Regions from separate parts of the Homo sapiens genome. Here region 1 is linked to region 2. The links are contacts of gene promoters, found by promoter capture Hi-C in blood cells and fetal thymus (Javierre and others, 2016). All regions are on one chromosome and are shown on one strand. The core of a region is centred on a gene start or on the middle of the fragment in contact, and the rest is flanking DNA. Distances in the headings are between cores, read along the strand shown. Region 1 overlaps SARS2 (seryl-tRNA synthetase 2, mitochondrial). Region 2 holds the start of ACTN4 (actinin alpha 4).

The links. The method cuts DNA at HindIII sites, captures the fragments that hold promoters and counts their contacts. A CHiCAGO score of 5 or more calls a contact.
Region 1: a contact is called between a fragment that was not itself captured here and the fragment with the promoter of ACTN4 in region 2, in 3 of 17 cell types (total CD8 T cells, M2 macrophages and naive CD4 T cells). The highest score is 5.3, in total CD8 T cells.

What each region holds. Positions count from the first base shown.
Region 1 is chr19:38,918,700-38,925,212 of GRCh38, forward strand. SARS2 (seryl-tRNA synthetase 2, mitochondrial) reads right to left here. Exons shown (of 16, transcript NM_017827.4): 3 at 3,539-3,568; 4 at 2,828-2,968; 5 at 2,693-2,747; 6 at 1,387-1,450; 7 at 1,063-1,168; 8 at 67-114. Among named protein-coding and RNA genes, the nearest start is that of SARS2, 8.8 kb to the right of the region's middle. RefSeq lists an enhancer at 1-310. The HindIII fragment of the contact is 441 bases long and covers 1,073-1,513 here.
Region 2 is chr19:38,643,789-38,650,353 of GRCh38, forward strand. It overlaps ACTN4 (actinin alpha 4), which reads left to right and starts at 3,861. Exons shown (of 21, transcript NM_004924.6): 1 at 3,861-4,119. The coding sequence starts at 3,958. RefSeq lists silencers at 3,701-3,890, 4,121-4,200, 5,384-5,582, 5,541-5,835 and enhancers at 5,541-5,835, 6,464-6,543. The HindIII fragment of the contact is 8,558 bases long and covers 1,525-6,565 here.

The sequences.
Region 1 (6,513 bases), core at 43-2,542, 270 kb after region 2:
GCCTCGGGCACCCACGGCAGGGCCTGACACCCAGGTGGGCGAGGGAAGCGGAGAGGCCTCACTCACAAACACTGCTCCGCGGAGAAGGTCTGGCACCGTCATGGGGGTGAAGCCCTGTTCAGGGGAGAGGATGAGTGAGCAGAGCTGGGACCCCTACCAGACCCCAAGCTCAGCCCTGAAGAAGGGGTGCTGCAGAGCCCCTTCCTCCTCAGACGAAACTGAGGCAGGGGCTGGCGCAGTGGCTCACCCATGTAATCCCAGCACTTTGGGAGGCTGAGGTGGGCGGATCACTTGAGGCCAGGAGTTTGAGACCAGCCTGGCCAACATGGCAAAACCCCCTCTCCACTAAAAAGGCAAAAATTAGCCGGCATGGAGATCGTGCTACTGCACTCCAGTCTGGGTGACAGAGCGAACTCTGTCAAAAAGAAAAAAAAAAAAATTAGCCAGCATGGTGGCATGTGCCTGTAATCCCAGCTACTCAGGAGGCTGAGGCAGGAGAATTACTTAAACCCGGGAGGTGGAGGTTGCAGTGAGCCAAGATTGCACCACTGTACTCCAGCCTGGGTGACAGAGCGAGACTCCGTCTCAAAAAACAAAAAAGTACAGATTTGGCCACACCCTCCCCTGCTTAAAAGCCTCCCATGGCTCCCTAGTACCCTCTGAAAATGTCTGAGTTCCTCACCGTGACCAATGCTCCATGCAACCAGTCCCTGCCATGTTTCAATGGATGCTATGATTCCCAAATGCTCCCTTTATACCGCAAGCAGGCAGTGAGGTGCAATGATTACAAGCACAGGCTCTAGGCCCAGCTCCAGACTGGCTGTGAGACCTTGGGCTATAGGTACCTCCCCTCTCTGGGCCTCAAGCCCTCTCTGTAAAGTGGGGATGATGACAGCACCCACTTCATAAAGTTGTCGTAAGGACTAAATGTGTCAATGATACACATGAAGCTCTGAGAGCAGTGACTAGGGCAGAGCAGAGATCACTCCCATCCCCGTTGGGCCCTCTGAGCTCAGCTTCGATGCCACCCCCTCCAGGCAGCCCTCCTATCTTGGCCCATACCCGGCGGAGAAGCTTGTTGAATGTGAAGTTGACCAGGCCGTGCTGCAGGAGGGCTCCAGCCCCGCGCAGGTAATAGGACCGGTGGCCAGACACGTGGGACAGGCGCCTGGGAGACAGACAGACAGGCGGGTGCACATGGGCCAGGCTGGCAGGGAATGTGGGGATGAAAACACCCGGGGGAAGAGGCCCGGCTGCTGGGTGGGGCTGGGGCATCAAAGATTCATGGCATTTCCACATCTCACGCTGAGGCCAATGAGGCAGGAGCCAGCTGTCGGGGTGCAGGCAGCTGGGAGAGGGGCGTGGGGAGCCAGGGGAGGGGCTCACTTCTGACGGATGATGTCGAGTTTCTCGCCAATTTCCAGGTGGCCCCGAGGTTGGAAGGAGAAAACTGGATGTGGGTGAAAAGCACCGGTGTAAGGCAGCGGGGAGAGAGGGATGGGGCCCAGATAGAAGCTTCCAGAGACAGCAGAGAGGAGGGACGGTGAGAGAAAATAAAGGAGGGGCAGGAGGAGAGAAGGGAGAAGAAGACACGGAAAGGGAGGGAAAGGGAAGAAAAGACAGACAGGAAGGGAGGGAGATAAAAACAGAGACAGGGAGAGGAAATGAGAGGAGGCAGAGAGGGAAATAAGAGGGCGCGGGGTGGGGAAGGCAGAGTTAGAAACAGAGGAGAGAGGCCAGAGGAGAAGGAAACACCACGAGGAAGGGAGGAGGAGAATCAGAGAGGAGGCACAGAGTTGGGGAGAAAAAGCCCCGGAGACAGGGACCAAAGCAGGGGGGTCAGAGAGAGAGACAGAGACACACACACACTCACACACATACATACACACACAGAGATACACACAGAGGTACGAAGACACACACACATATACAGACACACAGAGACAGACACATACACAGACACGCAGAGACAGACACACAGATACACGGATACAGACACACAAAGACAGACACGCACACACAGATACACACAAAGACACAGATACACAGACACAGATACAGACATACACACAGAGATACACGGAGATATGCAGATACACACACAGACACACAGAGACAGACACATACACACAGACACAGAGAAAGACACACAGATACATACACACAGATACATAGACACACACAGACACACACACACACAAACACAGATATACACACACAGAGATAGACACACACATAGACACACACACACAGACACAGACACAGATACAGACACACACAAACACAGACACACACACACAGATACAGACACACACAGATACACAGATACAGACACACACAGATACACAGATACAGACACACACATACAGATACAGACACACAGATACAGACACACATGACACACAGTCACACAACACATACATACACGACACACACTCACACACATACGATACAATCACACAACACAGGGTGAGACTGCCCAATGGTGAAGGGGGAGAGAATGAAAACCCAAGGACCGCCTCTCAGAGACAGCTCGAGCTCGGCCAAGGCAGGAAGCTGGAGCCACCTCCTGTACCGCCAGGAGTTCTCCAGGCTCCAGACATGTTCCCAGACCCCAGGGGCCCCCACCCCGAGACCCCAGAACCCCCACACCGCAGGGCTTGTCAGCTCCCAGGCCTGGGGTGTGGCCCACCTGGCTTGTCTCCGACCATGTGGAGCACTCGAGCCTGGCTCTCATCCCCGACGGGCTGCAGGGAGACAGCAGGAGTCACGGAAAGGTGGCACTAGGTGGGCCCCTGGCCTCCCTGCCACCCAGCACGGTGCTCACCACGTCTGGGTGGGTCTGGTTGGGCAGCTTCAGCGCCTGCAGGTAGAACTGCTCCTCAAGCTGGGCCTCCCTGGGGTACAGGTGAACAAGCTCCTTCCGGATCTCCCGGCCACGTGCCCGCAGACCCTGGTACTTGGGGTCCTGGGGGCAGCACAGGTGGGCTCAGCCCGGGAGAGGGTCAGGACTCCCTCATCCAGTGTGACCTTGATCCTGACCGGCAGAGCCCCTGTGGTGGACATTCATGCCTCTTCTCCAGGCCCAGGATCCTGAACGTCTTCGCAGAACTTCCCTTACCACCACATGGCAGGTTTGTGGGGAAAAGAATCAGGCCTGGCCAACTAGAACGTTCTATTGCCTTGGCCACAATGACTGGCTCAGAGACAGGCACCTGATGTCAGCTGAACTCATGAGAATCAGCCCCAGGACTTTAACTGGAACTATCAGGAAAGCGTGCTTGACTTTGCCTCCTACTTACACAAGGAGAGAAAGCTGGCCTGGGAATGGGAGGAACGTAGGACCAAATATGGAGCCAGCACCTGGATCCAGCCGCACCTGAAGCCAGTTTTAGTTTCATGCATCAATAGAGCCTATTTTTTTTTTCCCCTTAAACCTGTTTGAGTTGTTTTCTGTTACAATAGTAGAATCGTGACTGGCAGGGTATCCTCCCTGCCCACCCCCAACCCTGGATAGGACATCAACTCTTCACAGTACCTGCTGCACTTCACCACTGTCCTGGTTTGCCTGGTAGAAAAGAGACAGGGTGGGTGATTAGGTTGACAAAGTCGAGGGTGGGGAAGAGAAAAAATGGTGAAAGGTCAAACAAGGCCAGAGGATCTTAGTCTCCTGCTCTGTCAGTGCCTAGCTGGGTCCCTCTGCAACTCTGTGTTTCTGTTTCTCTATTGCTAACGCTACAAGGAGGCAAGATAATTAACAGTAATCACAGCCGCAGATCCGTATAGGAAGTGATGCCTCCATGCCAGGCTCTATGTACAGGGCTCTCCCATGCCATGATTTCTTCAAAATCCACTTTAGGAGGTAGGCATTCGTGTAAACCCTGTGATATGGTTTGGCTGTGTCTCCACCCAAATAATATCTCAAATTGTAATTCCACCTGTTGAGGAAGGGACCTGGTGGGAGGTGATCGGGTCCTGGGGGCGGTTTCCCCCATGCTGTTATCCTGATAGTGAGTTCTCACGAGATCTGATGGTTTAAAAGCATTTGGCAGTTACCCCCTGTGGCTGTCTCCAGCCACCATGTGGAAGGGAAAGTGCCTTGCTTCCCCTTCCGCCATGATTTTAAGTTTCCTGAGGCCTCCCAGCCATATGGAACTGTGAGTCAATTAAACCTCTTTTCTTTATAAATTACCCAGTCTCAGGTATTCTTTTTTTTTTTTTTGAGACGGAGTCTTGCTCTGTCGCCCAGGCTGGAGTGCAATGGCGCGATCTTGGCTCACTGCAAGCTCCACCTCCTGGGTTCACGCCATTCTCCTGCCTCAGCCTCCTGAGTAGCTGGGACTACAGGTGCCCGCCACCACGATCGGCTAATTTTTTTTGTATTTTTCGTAGAGACAAGGTTTCACCATGTTAGCCAGGATGGTCTCGATCTCCTGACTTTGTGATCCACCTGCCTTGGTCTCCCAAAGTGCTGGGATTACAGGCGTGAGCCACCGCGCCCAGCCTGATCTCAGGTTTTCTTTTTTTTTTTTTTTTTTTTGAGACGGAGTCTCGCTCTGTCGCCCAGGCTGGAGTGCAGTGGGGGGATCTCGGCTCACTGCAAGCTCCGCCTCCCGGGTTCACGCCATTCTCCTGCCTCAGCCTCCCTAGTAGCTGGGACTACAGGCGCCCGCCACTACGCCCGGCTAATTTTTTTGTATTTTTAGTAGAGACGGGGTTTCACCGTTTTAGCCGGGATGGTCTCGATCTCCTGACCTCGTGATCCGCCCACCTCGGCCTCCCAAAGTGCTGGGATTACAGGCGTGAGCCACCGCGCCCGGCCTCAGGTTTTCTTTATAGCAGTGTGAAAATGGGGCCAGGCGTGGTGGTTCACAAATGTAATCTCAGCACTTTGGGAGGCTGAGGTGGGCAGATCACCTGAGGCCAGCAGTTGGAGAGCAGCCTGGCCAACATGGAGAAACCTCATCTCTAAAACCTTGTACTAAAAATACAAAAATCAGGCCGGGCTTGGTGGCTTACGCCTGTAATCCCAGCACTTTGGAAGGCTGAGGCGGGCGGATCACGAGGTCAGGAGATCGAGACCATCCTGGCTAACATGGTCTCTACTAAAAATACAGAAAAAAAATTAGCTGGGCGCGGTGGCGGGCGCCTGTAGTCCCAGCTACTCGGGAGGCTGAGGCAGGAGAATGGCGTGAACCCGGGAGGCAAAGCTTACAGTGAGCCGAGATAGTGCCACTGCAGTCTGGCCTAGGTGGAAGAGCGAGACTCAGTCTCAAAAAAAAATTAGCTGGGTGCAGTGGCACGTGCCTGTAATCCCAGCGACTCAGGAGGCTGAGGCACGAGAATCCCTTGAACCTGGGAGGTGGAGGTTGCAGTGAGCCGAGATCGTGCCACTGTACTCTGGTCTGGGTGACACAGTGAGACTCTGTCTCAAAAAAAAAAAAGAAGAAAATGGACTAATATACCCTGTCTGTAGATTCGAAAATGGAAGCTCAGAGAGGTAAAGTCTATCAGTGTGCATTTGAGGGCCTGCAACCAAGGCCCCTTGACATTCTGAACCTTCCATGATCCTAAGCAGCTGAGGGAATCGAACAGCCTGGGTCTGAATGTTGGGCACCTACATGCTGTGAGCCCTTGGGAAAATCTCTGCCCCCTCTGAGCCTCAGTATCCCCATCTGTGAAGTGGGATGATAACAGGACCTCCCTGGGCAGGGCTGTTGTGCAGCTTCCCTGAGATGAGTTAGCACTCAAAGAACATTAAATGATCCATTGTGTTGCTTTCATTGGTTGTCCATGATGTAGACAGCCCGAGGCTGGCCACTCAGTAGGTGCTGGGAGATGTGATTCTTGGTGGCAGAGGCCTCCAAACAGAGTGGTAAAAACCAACTGCCTAGGTGCGAACCTTGCCTCTCCCACTTCCTGGCTGTGAGACTTACGTACTTTTTCTGGTTGTTTTTTCTCGGAGACAGGGTCTCACTCTGTCGCCCAGGCTGCAGTGTGATGGTGCGATCATAGCTAACTGCAGCCTCAAACTCTTGGACTCAAGCGATCTTCCTGCCTCAGCCCCAGAGTAGCTGGGACTACAAGTGCGTACCCCCATACCCGGCCATTTAGGCCCGTTTTAATCTCTTAGGGCCTCACTTTTTCCCAGCTGTAAAATTGGGTTTGTATTGTTCCTGTGTGACAAATGGCTGTGAGGATTAAGAGTATGGAAAACACCTGGTATGGTGTGTAGCGACTTCTACATAAAGGTCTGCTGTTGTTTTTATGATTGTTTTTAAGCCGTCTGTGGCAGACACTGTTGGTTGTATAACCCAAGATCCCTCCTTCCAGGCCAGGCGCAGTGGCTCACACCTGTAAGCCCAGCACTTTGGGAGGCCAAGGCGGGTGGATCACCTGAGGTGATGAGTTTGAGACCAGCCTGGCCAACATGGTGAAACCCTATCTCTACTAAAAATACAAAATTAGCCGGGCGTGGTGGCGCATGTCTGTAATCCCAGCTACTGGGGAGGC
Region 2 (6,565 bases), core at 2,611-5,110:
GTAGGAGGATCACTTGAGGCCAGGAGTTCCAGGCCAGCCTAAGCAACCTAGCGAGACCACCCCCACACACTCCCCTCACCCCCACCACTTGTCTCTACAAAAAATTTAGCAATTGCCGGGCACAGTGGCTCACGCCTGTAATCCCAGCACTTTAGGAGGCCGAGGTGGGCGGATCACAAAGTCAGGAGATCAAGACCATCCTGGCTAATACGGTGAAACCCCGTCTCTACTAAATATACAAAAAATTAGCTGGGCATGGTGGCAGGTGCCTGTAGTCCCAGCTACTTGGGAGGCTGAGGCATGAGAATGGCGTGAACCAGGGAGGCGGAGCTTGCAGTGAGCCAAGACCGTGCCACTGCACTCCAGCCTGGGCGACAGAGTGAGACTCCGTCTCAAAAAAAAATAGAAATTAGCCAGGCGTGGTGGGGTGCACCTGCAGTCCCAGCTACTTGGGAGGCTAAAGCAGGAGGATCATTTGGGCCCAGGAATTTGAGGCTGCAGTGAACTGGAACGGTGTCACTGTACTTCAGCCTGGTGACATAGCGAGTTGCTGTGTCAAACACCATCACCACCACCAGCACCAAGAACAATATCAACAAAACTTGGCTGAGCTGGATGTGGTGGTACGTGTTCACAGTCGCAGCTACTCAGAAGGCTGAGGTAGGAGAATCAAGAGTCTGAGCTCAACTTGGGCAAAATATTGAGAACCCTGTCTCCAAAAACAAAAAACTAAAACACTGGGCTGGCCGGGTAGAGTGGCTCATGCCCGTAATCCCTGCACTTTGGGAGGCTGAGGCAGGCAGATCACCTGAGCTCAGGAGTTCAAGACCAGCCTGGCCAACATGGCAAAACCCCTCTTTACTAAAAATATAAAAATTAGCCGGGCATGGTGGCATATGCCTGTAATCCCAGCTACTCTGGAGGCTGAGACAGGAGAATCGCTTGAACTCGGGATGCGGAGGTTGCAGTGAGCCGAGATCATGCCACTACACTCTGGTCTGGGTGACAGGGCGAGACTCCACCTCCAATAAAAAAAAAAAAAGGAAAAAAACACTGGGCTGGGCTGGGCTGGGCTGGGCAAGGCAGGGCAGGGCAGACTCCTCTGCAGCCTTTCTTCCTTTCCTTGACTTTGACTGTTACCCTGAGCGTGGAGCCACAGGAAGGTTTGAACAGAGGAGGGAGGAATGTGATCTGACTCAGTCATTCATTCACAGGCTCCCTCCAGCTTCTCCTGGGAAAGAGAAGGGGGTGGGAGGGGGAGCTGGGAGACAGTGGGGAACTGCTGCAATGGCCCAAGGGAAGGCGAGGCGAGGGTAGACAGAACCTGGGTGGCGCAGTGGGGCAGGGGGAAGTGGGTGGGTTCTGTGTATTCTTTCAAGATGGAATGACAGAATTTCCTGAAGAACTGGATGGGGTTGTGAAGACAAAGAGGCATTAAGGATGACCGCAAGGTCTGTAGCCTCAGCAACTGCAAGGCTGGAGGTGCACGAATTGAAGAGGGATGACTGTGGGATGGGATGACCAAGCTTGGGGGGAAGATCAGGAACTCTATTTTGGATATTTATTATTATTATTATTTGAGATGGAGTTTCGCTCTTGTTGCCCAAGCTGGAGTACAATGGTGCAATCTTGGCTCACCACAACCTCCGTCTCCCAGGTTCAAGCTATTCTCCTACCTCAGCCTCCTGAGTAGCTGGGATTACAGGCATGTGCCACTATGCCTGGCTAATTTTGTATTTTTAGTAGAGACGGAGTCGTTGGCCCGGCTGGTCTTGAACTCCTGACCTGGGGTGATCCGCCCACTTCGGCCCCCCAAAGTGCTGGGATTACAGGCGTGAGCCACCACACCTGGCCGGATATTTATTTATTTATTTTTATTTTTATTTTAGACGGAGTCTTGCTCTGTCGCCCAGGCTGGAGTACAGTGGCGCGATCTCGGCTTACTGCAGCCTCTGCCTCCCGAGTTCCAGTGATTCCCCTACCTCAGCCCCCTGGGTAGCTGGGATTACAGGTGCATGCCACCAAGCCCGGCTAATTTTTGTATTTTTAGTAGAGACGGGGTTTCACCATGTTGGCCAGGCTGGCCTCTAACTCCTGACCTCGTGATCTGCCTGCCTCGGCCTCCCAAAGTGCTGGGATTACAGGCATGAGCCACTGCGCCCGGCCATTTATTTTTAATGTAAACATTTTTTTGTAGAGATGAGATCTTGTTATGTTACCCAGTCTGGCCTCAAACTCTTGGGCTCAAGCACTCTTCCAGCCTTGACTCCCCAGAGTGCTGGGATTGCAAGAGTAAGCCACCAGTGCCTGGCTGAATATTTAAATTTAAGATGCTTCCTGATGCAGTGGCTCGCACCTTTGTTTAAATGTCTGCCTTCTCCATGAAGCCTACCTGAGTAGTTTATTTGCATTCCAGCCCATGCTTGATTTTTCTCCAAATACTCAACACCTTGGAATATACAATACTACCTATTTTTTACTTTTATGTATATTTTTGAGACAGGATTTCGCTTCTGGAGTGCATTGGTGTGATCACAGCTCACTGCAGACTGGAACTCCTGGGCTCAAGTGATGTCCCTTCCTCAGCCTCCTGAGTAGCTGGGACTACAGGTGCACACAGCCATGCCCAGTGAATTTTTACATTTCTTGTAGAGACAGGTTCTTGTTATGTTGCCTAGGCTGGCCTTGAACTCTTGGGCTCAAGCCATCCTCCCGCCTCAGCTTCCCAAAGTGCTGGGATTACAGGTGTGAGCCCCTGTGCCTGTCTACATATTTTTTAAAATTTTGAGTGTTGAGGCCAGGCGCAGTGGCTCATGCCTGTAAGCCCAGCACTTTGGGAGGCCGAGGTGGGCGGATCACCTGAGGTCGGGAGTTTGAGACCAGCCTGACCAACATGGAGAAACCCCGTCTCTACTAAAAATACAAAATTAGCCAGGAGTGGTGGCACATGCCTGTGATCCCAGCTACTCGGGAGGCTGAGGCAGGAGAATAGCTTGAACCTGGGAGGCGGAGGTTGCAGTGAGCCCAGATCACGCCATTGCACTCCAGCCTGGGCAACAAGAGCGAAACTCCGTCTCAAAAAAAAAAATTTGTGTGTTGGTTGGGCGCGGTGGCTCACGCCTGTAATTCCAGCACTTTGGGAGGCTGAGGCGGGAGGATCGCTTGAGCTCAAGAGTTCAAGACCAGCCTGGCCAACATGGTGAAACCCCGTCTCTACTAAAAAAATACAAAAATTAGCCGGGTGTGGTGGAGCATGCCTGTGTTCCCAGCTACTCGGGAGGCTGAGGCAGGAGAATTGCTTGAATCCGGGAGGCGGAGGTTGCAGTGAGCCGAGATCGCGCCACTGCACTCCAGCCTGGGAGACAGAGCGAGACTCCGTCTCAAAAAATAATAAAAATAAAAGTAGATTTGTGTGTATGTGGCTTCCTTTACTAGAAGGTAGTTTCATGAAAGTTGGGATTTTTTTCTGTTTTTAGTGCCTGCGTAAAACATAGTCTGGCACAGAATAGGTGTTCAATAAATATTTGTTGAATTTGTGTCGCTGAATGGGAACCCGGTGCAGTGCATTCCAAGCCTGAGCTGGTTCAGGTCCGATGGCGGGGCCTGCCCTTATGAATCATTCATGATCTGGCCCCGCCCATACGCGAACGACGCGCGCGTTCACGCCGGAGAGGGGGCGCGGCTCGCCCCCGGGCTGAGTCGGGCGGCCAGGAAGCGGGACTCTGCGCAGGCGCCAAGCTCCGGAGCGCGGCCTTGGTGCCTTTTCTGGTTTGGCAGGCGCGCGCGCGCGGGAGGGCGGCAACCTCGGCGCTGTGCGCAGGCGCGGCGGGCAGTGCGCAGGCGCGGGCGGAGGGCGGGCTGAAGCAGCTGAAGCGGCGGTAGCGGCGGCGGCTCGGGCAGAGGGGCGGGAGCTGAGGCGGGAGCGGACAGGCTGGTGGGCGAGCGAGAGGCGGCGGAATGGTGGACTACCACGCGGCGAACCAGTCGTACCAGTACGGCCCCAGCAGCGCGGGCAATGGCGCTGGCGGCGGGGGCAGCATGGGCGACTACATGGCCCAGGAGGACGACTGGGACCGGGACCTGCTGCTGGACCCGGCCTGGGAGAAGCAGCAGCGCAAGGTGCGCGGCCCGCGGGCCGGACGGGCTGGAGGGGCTTTTCTGAGGGGGCCCGGGGAGGGGTGGGAGGTCCTGAAAGGTAACTGGAGCGTCTGTGATGGGAACGGGGGGGTCCCGAGAAGGAATTGGCGGGTCCGGGAAGGGAATTGGAGTCCTGAGGAGGAATCGCCGAGCTAGAGGAAGGAATTGGGAATCTGAAAAGAGAATTGGCGGCTGGGTGGGGAATATGGGAGTCAAATAAAAGGAATCGGGAAGGCTGATGAAGGATTTGGAGGGTCTGGGCGTGCCATTAGGGGAAACCGAGGAGATGACTGGGCAGGCTGAAATGGAACTGGGATCCGAGGCGGGCTTGAAGGGTCGGAGCATGGGTTGGGGGTGCTGGGAGGAGAATCAGGGGAGGCTGAGAAGGGAATTTCTGGGTCTGGGAAGTGTGAGGAGGAGCTTGAGTGTGGAGGGGTTGGTTATTTGGAGAGCAGAAAGATCTGAAGGAGATTGGAATTGGGGGAGCCTCAGGTTGGGGGAGTTATAAAGGGGATGAAGAATCAAGTGTGAGGATGGAGTGGAGATTGTGGGGTCTGAAGACGGGTGGGAAGACTAGGGAGGCTGGGAAGATGAAAACAGGGGCTAAGGGTAGAATTGAGCATGAAAAGACATGGGCTTAGGGTGTGAGGAGGGTAGAGGTGCCAGGACTGGGGGTCTGAGGAGGGTGGGGTGCGGAAGGAAGAAGTTAAGGGGCCCGTGAATCAGACGTTTTTGAAGGGGGTGAGATTTATTTGTGGTGCCCTGTTCCAAAGGGGAGAAGATTAAGAGATAGGAGGAATAATAAGAGGAATTGATGAGGGATGGAGAAGCCGAAGTAGAGGGGATACGGAGAGTGGGGATAATTTGGGGAGGGATTTCTAAAGAATTGATGGGAAGCTGAAAAGCTAAAGCGTTGGAGAGAATGAGGAAGTGTAGAGGGAGAAGGTGAGATCGGTGGGAGGGAGGGTGAGCTGGAATGGTGGATAATGGGAGAGAGGTTCGTTTAGGAAAATGAAAGTCTCATTAGAAAGGGAATGCGTAATGGATAGACTGAGAAAGGAATTTGAGGAGGGGGTGCTGGCTCCTGGAGGTGCAGTCCCGGGACTGGAGAGCGTGTGTGTGTCGTGCAGGCAGAATGAGTTTGGGGAGGAAGCGTTGAGAGTGTCCAGGAAGAATTGTGTCTTTTTTGGAGAGACCGGAGGTAGGTGAAGGGATCCTGAAGCAGAGACTGTGTTCAGGTGGCACTGTTTTTTTGGGGGGCGGGGGGGGCAACTTGGTAGGGCCCCACAGCAGTGAAAAGGTGATCAGAAGTGGAGTGGGATCCCCGAGCGAGGTGTCAGTGTCTGTGGGGGGGGGATAAATCCAGTGTGGTTGAGGGGGGAGCTCTGAGTGTGTGCAGGAAGAGCTAAAGAAAGGAGCGTGGTGAGTGGGTGTGTGTGGGGGGAAGGGGTTGTTCAGAAGTTTTGTGCGTGAAATGGGTGGGAGGTACTTGAAGTTGGAAGCATTTCGTGGGATCTGGAGATCTGGATTTTCTTTCCAGATTTGTTACTGATTCGCTCTGTGGCCTTGGACAAGACCCTTGAACTCTCCGGGCAGTTTTGTTATCTGCAAAATGCAAAGGGATCCGAGGGTTCCCTGCGGTGATTCTGTTAATAAAGAGGGATGTGTGTAGAGTTGGGACTTTGGACAGGGCTCTGAAGGTTTGGGAGAGTGAGTTTGGTGGAGATTTTTCAGGAACAGGCTACAGGGCTTTGAGTGGTGACCTGGCAGAGTGGGGAGTGACTGGAAGCCTCTCGAGGGCGCGAGTTGGTGGCCAGGAGCTTGGCACAGGCAGCCTAGCCCAGGCTGGAGGGGAAAGGGTGGGAAGGGTGGAAGGAGCAGCTGTTCCAAGGCAGCCTGAGGTGGGGCCGGGCATAACCTTGGGTCCATTACCAGCGTTGCTTGAATTTCCTCATCCGTAGTAACTGAGGGGCATGGCAGTGGCTTGGTGGGAGGGGTGTCCTTATCCGTGGCCCCACCTACTGCAGGATGGACAGGTTGCGATAGTTGGCATAAATTCACTTTTTGAGGGGAAGGTGAGATCTGTTCTGGAGTCTCAACAATAATTTATTGCCTGAGGCAGTGCCAGGTTGGAAAAGGTTGCCAAGAGACCTGGAAAGTTGGGAGGGAGCAGGGGCCACAGTGGTGGTTTTGAGAATGTCTAGGCTTTGTCTTCTGCAGCTGAAGGTGCTGGAGAAAATAAACCCCTCCCCCTTTTTTCTCAGGTGATAAGGGTGGGGGGACCTTCCTTTTCTCTCCCTTCCTGTCTTCTGCCACTCCTCAAGTGACTCCTTTTGCGAGCCGGGTTTCACTCCCTCCCGAGAGTTAGGGTGTGGGCTTTGTTCGTGGTTATAGTGTCCCTTGCCTACAGGGTGAGGCTGGGGCACCA